Linked DNA regions of Homo sapiens: all the other regions are linked to region 3. Evidence: promoter capture Hi-C in human tissues and cell types (Jung and others, 2019). All regions are on one chromosome and are shown on one strand. Each heading gives the region's core, a stretch centred on a gene start or on the middle of the fragment in contact. The rest is flanking DNA. Distances are from core to core; before and after follow the strand shown.

Region 1 (2,761 bases), core at 130-2,629, 290 kb before region 3:
ATATTTTGGATTTGTAATAGGGGACACTTGGGTCTCTTCGTAGTTTCAAGTGACAAGTTGAGGCGGGGAGGAGGGCTCTAATATTTAGAGTTGTAATGCAGATTTAAGACTTAATCAGTTTTAGCTATTTGCTTTGTAAACTATATTGTATCAAGAGTCCTTATTTGCCGAAAACAGCTTTCTTTTTTTTTTAGAGACGGGGTGGGGACAGGGGTCCACGGGTCCGCTATGTAGCCCAAACTGGTGCAAACTCTTGAGCTCAAGCAGTCCTCCTGTCTCAGCCTCCTGAGTAGTTGGGATTGATTACAGGAGGGCAACATCATGACTGCCTTGAAGACAGTTTCCTTGATGAGACCTTTGTAAAATAACTTTGGTCTTGTCATAGAATTGGCTTAGAATCTTCTTAAAGTAGAGGTTTCTTTATAGAATTCTATAGTTATTTTTTAACCTCTGCTGTGCTGTGGAGGCCATGAGTACATATTTGTTTATTTTACACTTCATTAAGTTCCAGATTTGTAAAGTTTGGGGCTTTTTTGGGCTGTTGTTTTCCGAGACAAGGTCTCATTGTGTCACTCAGGCTGGAGTGCAGTGGCGTTATCGTGGCTCACTGTAGCCTCAACCTCCCAGGCCTCAAGTGATTCTTCCCCACCTCAGCCTCCCAAGTAGCCGGGACTATAGGTGCGCAACACCACGCTTGGCTAATTTTATTTTTTGTAGAGATGGGGTCCCACTATGTTTCCCAGGCTGGTCTTGACCCCCTGGTCTCTAGCAATCCTCCTGCCTCGGCCTCCCAAAGTGCTGGGATTACAGGCATGAGCTACCATGCTGGCCTTCTTTTCCATTAGAGACAGGATCTCTCTTTGTTGCCCAGACTTGAGTGCAGTGGTGCAATTATAGCCTGGAACTCTTGGGCTCAAGCGATCCTCCAGCCTCAGCTTTCCGAGTAGCTGGGACTACAGGTGCACACTGCTACACCTGGCTAATTTTTGTAGTATTTGTAGAGACGGGATCTCTCCTAGTCTTGAACACCTGTCCTCAAGTGATCCTCCTGCCTTGGCCTCCCAAAGTGTTGGGATTACAGGTGTGAGCTGCCGCACCCAGCCCTGTTGATATTTTCTAAAGATGAGCACAGTCCAGCCCTGTTGATATGTTGTAAAGCTGAGCACGGTGGCTCACGCCTTTAATCCCAGCACTTTGGGAGGCCAAGACACGCGGATCACGTGAGGCCAGAAGTTTGAGACCAGCCTGGCCAACATGGTGAAACACTGTCTCTACTGAAAATACAAGACTTAGCCAGATGTGGTGGTGCGTGTCTGTAATCCCAGCTCCTCAAGTGGCTGAGGCACAAGAATGGCTTGAACCCAGGAGGTGAAGGTTGCAGTGAACTGAGATCACGCCACTACACTCCAGCCTGGGCAACAGGGAGACCCTGTCTCAAAAAAAAAAAAAAAAAAAAATGGAGAAAGTATCAAGAATGATGAGGTTTTTTTAGTGATTGCATTGATACCTAATGGATCTCACTTAATCAAATTTGATGTGCCACTTTTAGATATGTTCATGGGTGCAGATACGGCTTTATTTATTTGAGACAGAGTTTCACTCTTGTTGCCCAGGGTGGAGTGCAGTGGTGCGATCTCAGCTCACTGCAGCCTTCGCCTCCCGGGTTGAAGCGATTCTTCTGCCTCAACCTCGAGTAGCTGGGATTATAGGCACCTGCCAGCATGCCTGGCTAATTTTTGTATTTTTAGTAGAGATGGGGTTTCACCATGTTGGCTAGGCTGGTCTCGAACTCCTGACCTCAGGTGATCCACCTGCCTCGGCCTCCCGAAGTGCTGAAATTACAGACGCACGCCACCGCGCCCAGCCCAGTACGGCTTTAGAAAGAACTCTCCACTAACTTTATGACCTCCAGGTCTTCTTTTTATAGCTACATTCAGCTTTGACAAAATGGAGTTGAATAATTTTACTTTCTTTCTAAGTTATAACTCCATTAAAACTGTGTTTTGGGGGGGAATGTCTTTAGTTTGGGGATTATGCAAAATGAAGTTTTTTGATTCCTGGGCTGTGTAATTTTGTACTGTTATACTTTTAATTTCGAAGGGTCAGTAGTTTCCATTTTCTTTCTTTCTTTCTTTCTTTCTTTCTTTCTTTCTTTCTTTCGTTCTTTCTTTCGTTCTTTCTTTCGTTCTTTCTTTCGTTCTTTCTTTCTTTCGTTCTTTCTTTCGTTCTTTCTTTCTTTCTTTCTTTCTTTCTTTCTTTCTTTCTTTGACAGTCTCGCCCTGTCACCAGGCTCTGGAGTACAGTGGTGAGATCTTGGCTCGCTGCAACCTCTGCCTCCTGGGTTCAAGCGATTCTCCTGCCTCAGCCTCCCAAGTTGCTGGGATTATAGGCATGCGCCACCACACCCAGCTAATTTTGTGTTTTAAGTAGAGACGGGGTTTCACCATGTTGGCCAGGCTGGTCTCAAACTCCTGACCTCAGGAGATCCACCCGCCTTGGCCTCCCAAAGTGCTGGGATTACAAGTGTGAGCCTCCACACCTGGCCAAGTAGTTTCCATTTTCATAGTAACATTGCTACTCTTTAGCAAAATAATCATTAAGTTAGAAACTGTCACCACTTTCTCCTTGTTCTTTTACCTTTTTGTTTCCTGTGAGATTGAGTAAGCTCTTGCAGACTGTGTGAATATGTATGATATTGGTGATAATGTGAGGTGACTAATAGTCTACTGTGAGTAGATTGTCTTTTTTAACCCAGTATTAT
Region 2 (2,700 bases), core at 59-2,558, 470 kb before region 3:
CAGTTTACTGTTCTGTACTTTCTGTTGTATCACAATCAGGTAAAAGTCACTTTAAACTGAGGAAACGGCAAATTGTGTTTTAAAGCTCTTTGTATTTCTCCAGTTTCTGACCTTGTAAATTTGTATATATGCACTAATAAAGCTTTTTTTATAATCCTGATGGGTTATCCTTTTGCTCGTCAACTCCTGTTATTCTGATTATGTAACCAGGACTTGTTTTTTTTTCTAAGCATATACAATGCAAGGTGCAAACATTTAACAACAGCTTTCAAGAAAATGAGCAGGAGATCTTTAATGGGGAGTGGTGGGGCCAGTTTAGACAAACAGGCTTCTAGTCCCAGATGGTGCTGTGTGATCAAAGTTTTGGGGTCTAATATTATCTATAATATCTAGATTGGTTAATAGCCATATTAGATAATATTTTACCTACTTAATTCCTGGCAATGATGTAATATGGTTAACATTTCAGAAAAAAAGGTGCTTTATAGCTTTTTTCCCCCCACTGATAAAAGTAACAGATACGGTTATATTCATATATAGTTAACCAAAGACACGTGTTTGAATTTTATTGTAGTATATTTATTTTTTTGTTGTTGGTTTTTTGTTTTTTTTTTTTCTGGAGACAGAATTTCGCTCTTGTTGCTCAGGCTGGAGTGCAATGGCACGATCTCGGCTCACCGCAACCTCCGCCTCCCAGGTTCAAGTGATTCTCCTGCCTCAGCCTCCCGAGTAGCTGGGATTACAGGCATGCGCCACCACACCCAGCTAATTTTGTATTTTTAGTAGAGATGGGGTTTTTCCATGTTGGTCAGGCTAGTCTCCAACTCTCGACCTCCCAAAGTTCTGGGATTACAGGCGAGAGCCACCGCGCCTGGCCTGGAGTAAATTTCTATGCATATAATTGATTTTTTTAAACCTAATCAAAATGTGTGATTTGAATTTGTTAGCTCTGTTTCTTAAGATTTGCAGTGTAGAAGGTAATTTTTCCTTTCTAGCTGTGCAGTGGAGAGAATGTTAAGGTGAAAGGAGAGAAGCAGCAGCTCTCTTAGAGCAAATTATGCATAACAGTTATCTAAAGCCAACAGCAAACCAGCTTGGAAGTATGTTGAAGGCTACTGGCATCGTACTCATCAATGCGGTTTCGATTCCGAGGCTGGGGCTGTGATGTATGAGGGGAAGAAAGCCGCTGCCCGCCATACATGTTGCAGACCTTCCCGGGGTCCCCGCTCCCTCCTTGGGGGCGAGGCCTAGCTCCCCGGAAGCGCCCGACCGCCCCGCCCTTTCTCCGCTTCCTGCTTTCGGTTGCTAGACTACCCGGGCCCTCACAGAAGGCGGTGGCGGGCGGGTGCAGCGAGTTTGTCCCCTTGCCCGCACACTGCTTGGCCTCTGTACTTAAGTGCGGTGGCCGCCTGCCTCGCTGGAGCTTCTCTGCCGCAGCCATCCGTGCTGCTTGGGACGGGCCGGGGCGCGAAGGCGGTCGCATCCATCGCTCTGCCCTCCTGGGAAGTTTCTGCTCTCCTTCCCCGCTCCTACCCTTAGGAAACCCCCTCACCACCTGCCCCAGACCAGGTTCCTCTGAACCCTAAATTCAATCTTTAGGGCCCACTTTCCCAACCCCCTGACCTTTTTCCATCGGCACCTACCGAGACGACTTCGTCGCGTGCTCCCATACCCATTTCTTTCACTTTCCTGTGGCGAGCATCTCCTTTCTCAGGGAAAGGGAAGCATGGGGCCAGCACCTTGGGAAGAAGAAGCGGGAAGATACGCTGCCCTCCCTGTCTCAGATGCACCTCTGGCCTCGGCGTGACCACCTTGTTTAGCTGAGGAGAAGCTGGGTTGGCAGGGTTTTCTGAAGTCAAGAGGGAGCTGGGGGGCGCCCGGGGAGGTATTGGCAGTTTTTTCACTTGTCCTCTTGTGGCTTTGTAGCTTCTCTTGTGTAATCAGCTGCCTATTTGGAAATTGGGCAGGGTTTGCGACTGGATGCTAATGTCACTGACTAGTTTTCAGCCTACCATCCAGAAGTAACATGTTCCCAGCTTTGGAAACGCACCTAAAGCAGGTCGGTACACAACACGGAAAGCCACAGAAATTTCTTCGGGGAACTCCATTTCTTCGGGAACTCCACAGAAATCTGCTACTAGATGAGAAGGGATGTTCTGGTGGCATCTTTTCTCAGCTGGAGATCTTGATCCCCACGATAGAATAATTCGCATGGAATGCAGCTCGCTTGGTTTAGTCTAGTCCTATGCAACAACGCTCATGTACTTTTTGTTGAGTCTATTATGGTTTGAAAACATTATCTTGATTGAAGTGGCCTTTCCTTTCACAGACTATTCCTGATCCTTATGAAGACTTTATGTACCGTCACCTCCAATATTATGGCTACTTTAAAGGTAATACCATGTTCTTATCTAGTATCACCTTTCCTGGACTCAAGAGGAAAATTGCTTCGTTAGCTGGGAGGGTTGCACTTGGGTAGACTAATAAATAATTTGCATTGACAAATAAATACTTTTTCCTCTACCATTAGTGAAAAGTACTTCCTTTCCCCATTGATCTGCGGGTCACCTCTGTCAAGTAGACAGCATCACTTAATACAAAGGTCTGTTTCTGGGCTCTCTATTCCATTGGTCTGTTTGGCTATCCTTTACCAGTATCACTGTCTCTTAATTACTATATGGCATTAAAATAGTCTTTATC
Region 3 (2,903 bases), core at 217-2,716:
TGCCACCACACCCAGCTAATTTTTAAACTTTTTTTTGTAGAGAGGAGATCTTCCTAAGCTGCTCAGGCTGGTCTCCAACTCCTGGGCTCAAGCAATCTTCCCACCCTGGCCTCCCAAAGTGCTGGGATTAGAAACGTGAGCCACCACACCAAGCCTAATCAGGTTTTTGTTGTTGTTGTTTTGAGACAGTCTCACTCTGTCGCGCAGGCTGGAGTGCAGTGGCGTGATCTCAGCTCACTGCAACCTCCGCTTTCCGAGTTCAAGCGATTCTCCTGCCTCAGCCTCCAGAGTAGCTGGGATTACAGGAGCACGCCACTGCACCCGGCTAATTTTTTTTTTTTTGTATTTTTAGTAGAGACGGGGTTTCGCCACGTTGGCCAGGCTGGTCTCGAACTCCTGACCTCAGGTGATCTGCCTGCTTCGGCCTCTCAAAGTGCTGGTATTACAGGTGAGCCACGGCGCCCAGGCCAAGCCTGATCAGTTTTGTTTCCCAAAGATCTGAGGAGATTTGCTTCCAGTAGGCAGATCTGAATCAAAGCATCCCCAGGACCTATGATCTGACCTGCAACCGTCACAGGAGTCACAAAGTCCTGAGGCCAAACTGGCTGCACCTGAATCCTAATGGTCAATGCCAAGAGGGCCATTGATTCTGTGGAAACCCCACCTACTCCCACTTTATGATATGCGCCTGTCCCTTACCTCAAAATACCTCCCCACTGGTCTGAAATTCCTCCCCCAGGGATTCAGTGCTTTGGGTTTGTAAAGTCTGAACATCCTGTGCAACCCAACTCCTTTGGGAAGAGGCATGACATGACGTCTTGACTCTAATTAACTAAAACTTGGAAGTGGAGGGGAGGGAGGACAGGGAAAGGACTGGAAGGGAAAGTGAGAGGGCTACTGAAGCTTTGTGCAGGGCAGGAACGGTAGGCCAGACTGGGGCAACCTCAAGGACACACGGAGTCCAAAGGGTTGTTTACATACTGTGTCCTGCACCCCAAGCAAAACATCTCCTGGAGAACAGGGCCAGGGCTCAATCTCCCCACAAAGGCAGGGGCGTGGAGAGAAGCGACCTCTACTTTCCCATCCCTCGCCTCAATTCTGCACCCGATCTAGCTATGGGGTCAAGCCTGGAGGGGACGCTGGTTCTCCAGACATGGTCCCGCCCACTGCAAGTGCCACCTTGGTAAGGGATTTCTCCGAGCAGAGGCAAACGCGAATTTGTGGCCTTCTTAATCAAGATGAGGTCTTCGAGCCCTGTCTGCCGCGCCAGGTCGCGTTACCTTCTTATGCTCCTCCGCCACAGCCAGACCACGACCCTCCTGCACGCAATCCCACCGAGACTGCGCCTTTTCCCCGCACCCCAGCAGGTCCCTAAGTAAGATGGCGGCGAACGCACTTCCGGCGTGTGTCCTTACGGGTGCGTCCGGGCGGCTGCTTGCAGGTGCCACCCAGCGGGTTCCAGCTTGTTTGCTGCATAGATTACAACGGTGATGGCGGGCAAGCGGTCCGGCTGGAGCCGGGCGGCTCTCCTCCAGCTCCTTCTCGGCGTGAACCTGGTGGTGATGCCGCCCACCCGGGCCCGGAGTCTGCGCTTCGTTACCTTGGTAATGAGAGATGGGCTCACCAAAGACTTCCCTGAAGCTAAAAGGGCAAAGGCCAGCTGGTGGAGGTCGAGGATCTCGGGAAGGAACAGCTGGTTTAGGAGGGGACGACTGGCCTGGGTAGTTGGGAGGCTGGATTCAGGATTGACCTGGAGCCCTGGCTTATGGGAGTCAGGATGACCGAATACGTCGGGGTGAGTCTGCCTTGAGACAGGGAAGTGGTTGAATGGTTAAGACTCATCCCTAAAGAAGCCTTTGGTTATCTTTTTTCCCCAGTTGTCCCCACCACATACGTTGCTTTCACTTCTCTTTTCCCTTCCTACCTGTACCTTGGCTTTGCCTATGGTCTCCAGTAGCATTGCTTAGCTAAGTTAGAATCTCTGGAATCTGGAAGAAGTGACTGACTCCTAGCTGGGGTCTTTTGCAGCCAGTAGGCTTCCCAGAGGGAATGAGACTTCCTTCCCTAACATGGGGCAAAAGGTAGGCTCTGGGTCCCTATCAAGGGGATGCTTCTGACCTATAGGCAAACCATTTTATTCTCTCAGCTGTACCGCCATGGAGACCGTTCACCAGTGAAGACATATCCCAAGGACCCCTATCAGGAAGAAGAATGGCCCCAGGGGTTTGGTCAGTTAACCAAGGTGGGTCAGAAGCCAGCCTTTCCTCAGGATGAGCTGCAGAATGAGCGACGTCTAGAGCAGTCTACAAAACTTGGGGTCCTACTAAACTGCCTTTTCCCATATGGGTGCTGACTTTGACCAGATTTCATAACCTTAATCTCTGTGCCCATGATATTGCTGTGCATGACTGGCCACTTAATGAAAGACTTCTGGGATCAGATTAATTGACTCCAGCAAAGCGTGAACCTGGAAAGCAACAGGGCCTAAACCCCATGGGGCTTGAAGCCACCCCTTCCCTCTAGACCCTCTTAACCCTTGGGTTTGCCCACAGGAGGGGATGCTACAGCACTGGGAACTGGGCCAGGCCCTGCGGCAGCGCTATCACGGCTTCCTAAACACCTCTTATCACCGGCAAGAGGTAAGGTTGGGAGCTCCAGAGGCAAGGGGAACAAGGTATGCTGCCCTCATCTTTTGCCCTCAGGGAGCCTAAGGCTGAGGCTGGGCACTTTGGCCTCCTTCTTGTATTTTTGGTCACAACTACAGGAAAAGACATCTGAGAGCTGTCTGGAACAAAGCCCTAGGAGCTGAGTTGCCCCTGCTTGGCTGGGATGAGGCAAATTTGATTAAGCATCCAAATTCGGACTTAAGGGCGGGCCTGGCAAAGTGGTTTCTGACTGTGAAA

The links. The method cuts DNA at HindIII sites, captures the fragments that hold promoters and counts their contacts. A contact is called where the count stands out against the background at its distance.
Region 1: a fragment that was not itself captured here is called in contact with the fragment with the promoter of ACP2 in region 3 in 1 of the 25 tissues and cell types used here (hippocampus).
Region 2: the fragment with the promoter of AGBL2 here is called in contact with the fragment with the promoter of ACP2 in region 3 in 2 of the 25 tissues and cell types used here (adrenal gland and heart left ventricle).

Annotation. Positions count from the first base shown.
Region 1 is chr11:47,541,193-47,543,953 of GRCh38, reverse strand. All of the region lies in intron 1 of CELF1 (CUGBP Elav-like family member 1), which reads left to right. Among named protein-coding and RNA genes, the nearest start is that of CELF1, 11 kb to the left of the region's middle. RefSeq lists an enhancer at 1,288-1,787. The HindIII fragment of the contact is 9,031 bases long and covers 1-2,761 here.
Region 2 is chr11:47,713,977-47,716,676 of GRCh38, reverse strand. AGBL2 (AGBL carboxypeptidase 2) reads left to right here and starts at 1,308. Exons shown (of 19, transcript NM_024783.4): 1 at 1,308-1,502; 2 at 1,927-2,059; 3 at 2,330-2,393. The coding sequence starts at 2,027. It overlaps FNBP4 (formin binding protein 4), which reads left to right. Exons shown (of 17, transcript NM_015308.5): 17 at 1-183. RefSeq lists an enhancer at 1,571-1,630. The HindIII fragment of the contact is 9,102 bases long and covers 1-2,700 here.
Region 3 is chr11:47,247,377-47,250,279 of GRCh38, reverse strand. It overlaps ACP2 (acid phosphatase 2, lysosomal), which reads left to right and starts at 1,466. Exons shown (of 11, transcript NM_001610.4): 1 at 1,466-1,604; 2 at 2,147-2,242; 3 at 2,553-2,639. The coding sequence starts at 1,491. It also overlaps a transcript of NR1H3 not described here. RefSeq lists a silencer at 1,023-1,190 and enhancers at 1,271-1,780, 1,911-2,000. The HindIII fragment of the contact is 13,067 bases long and covers 1-2,903 here.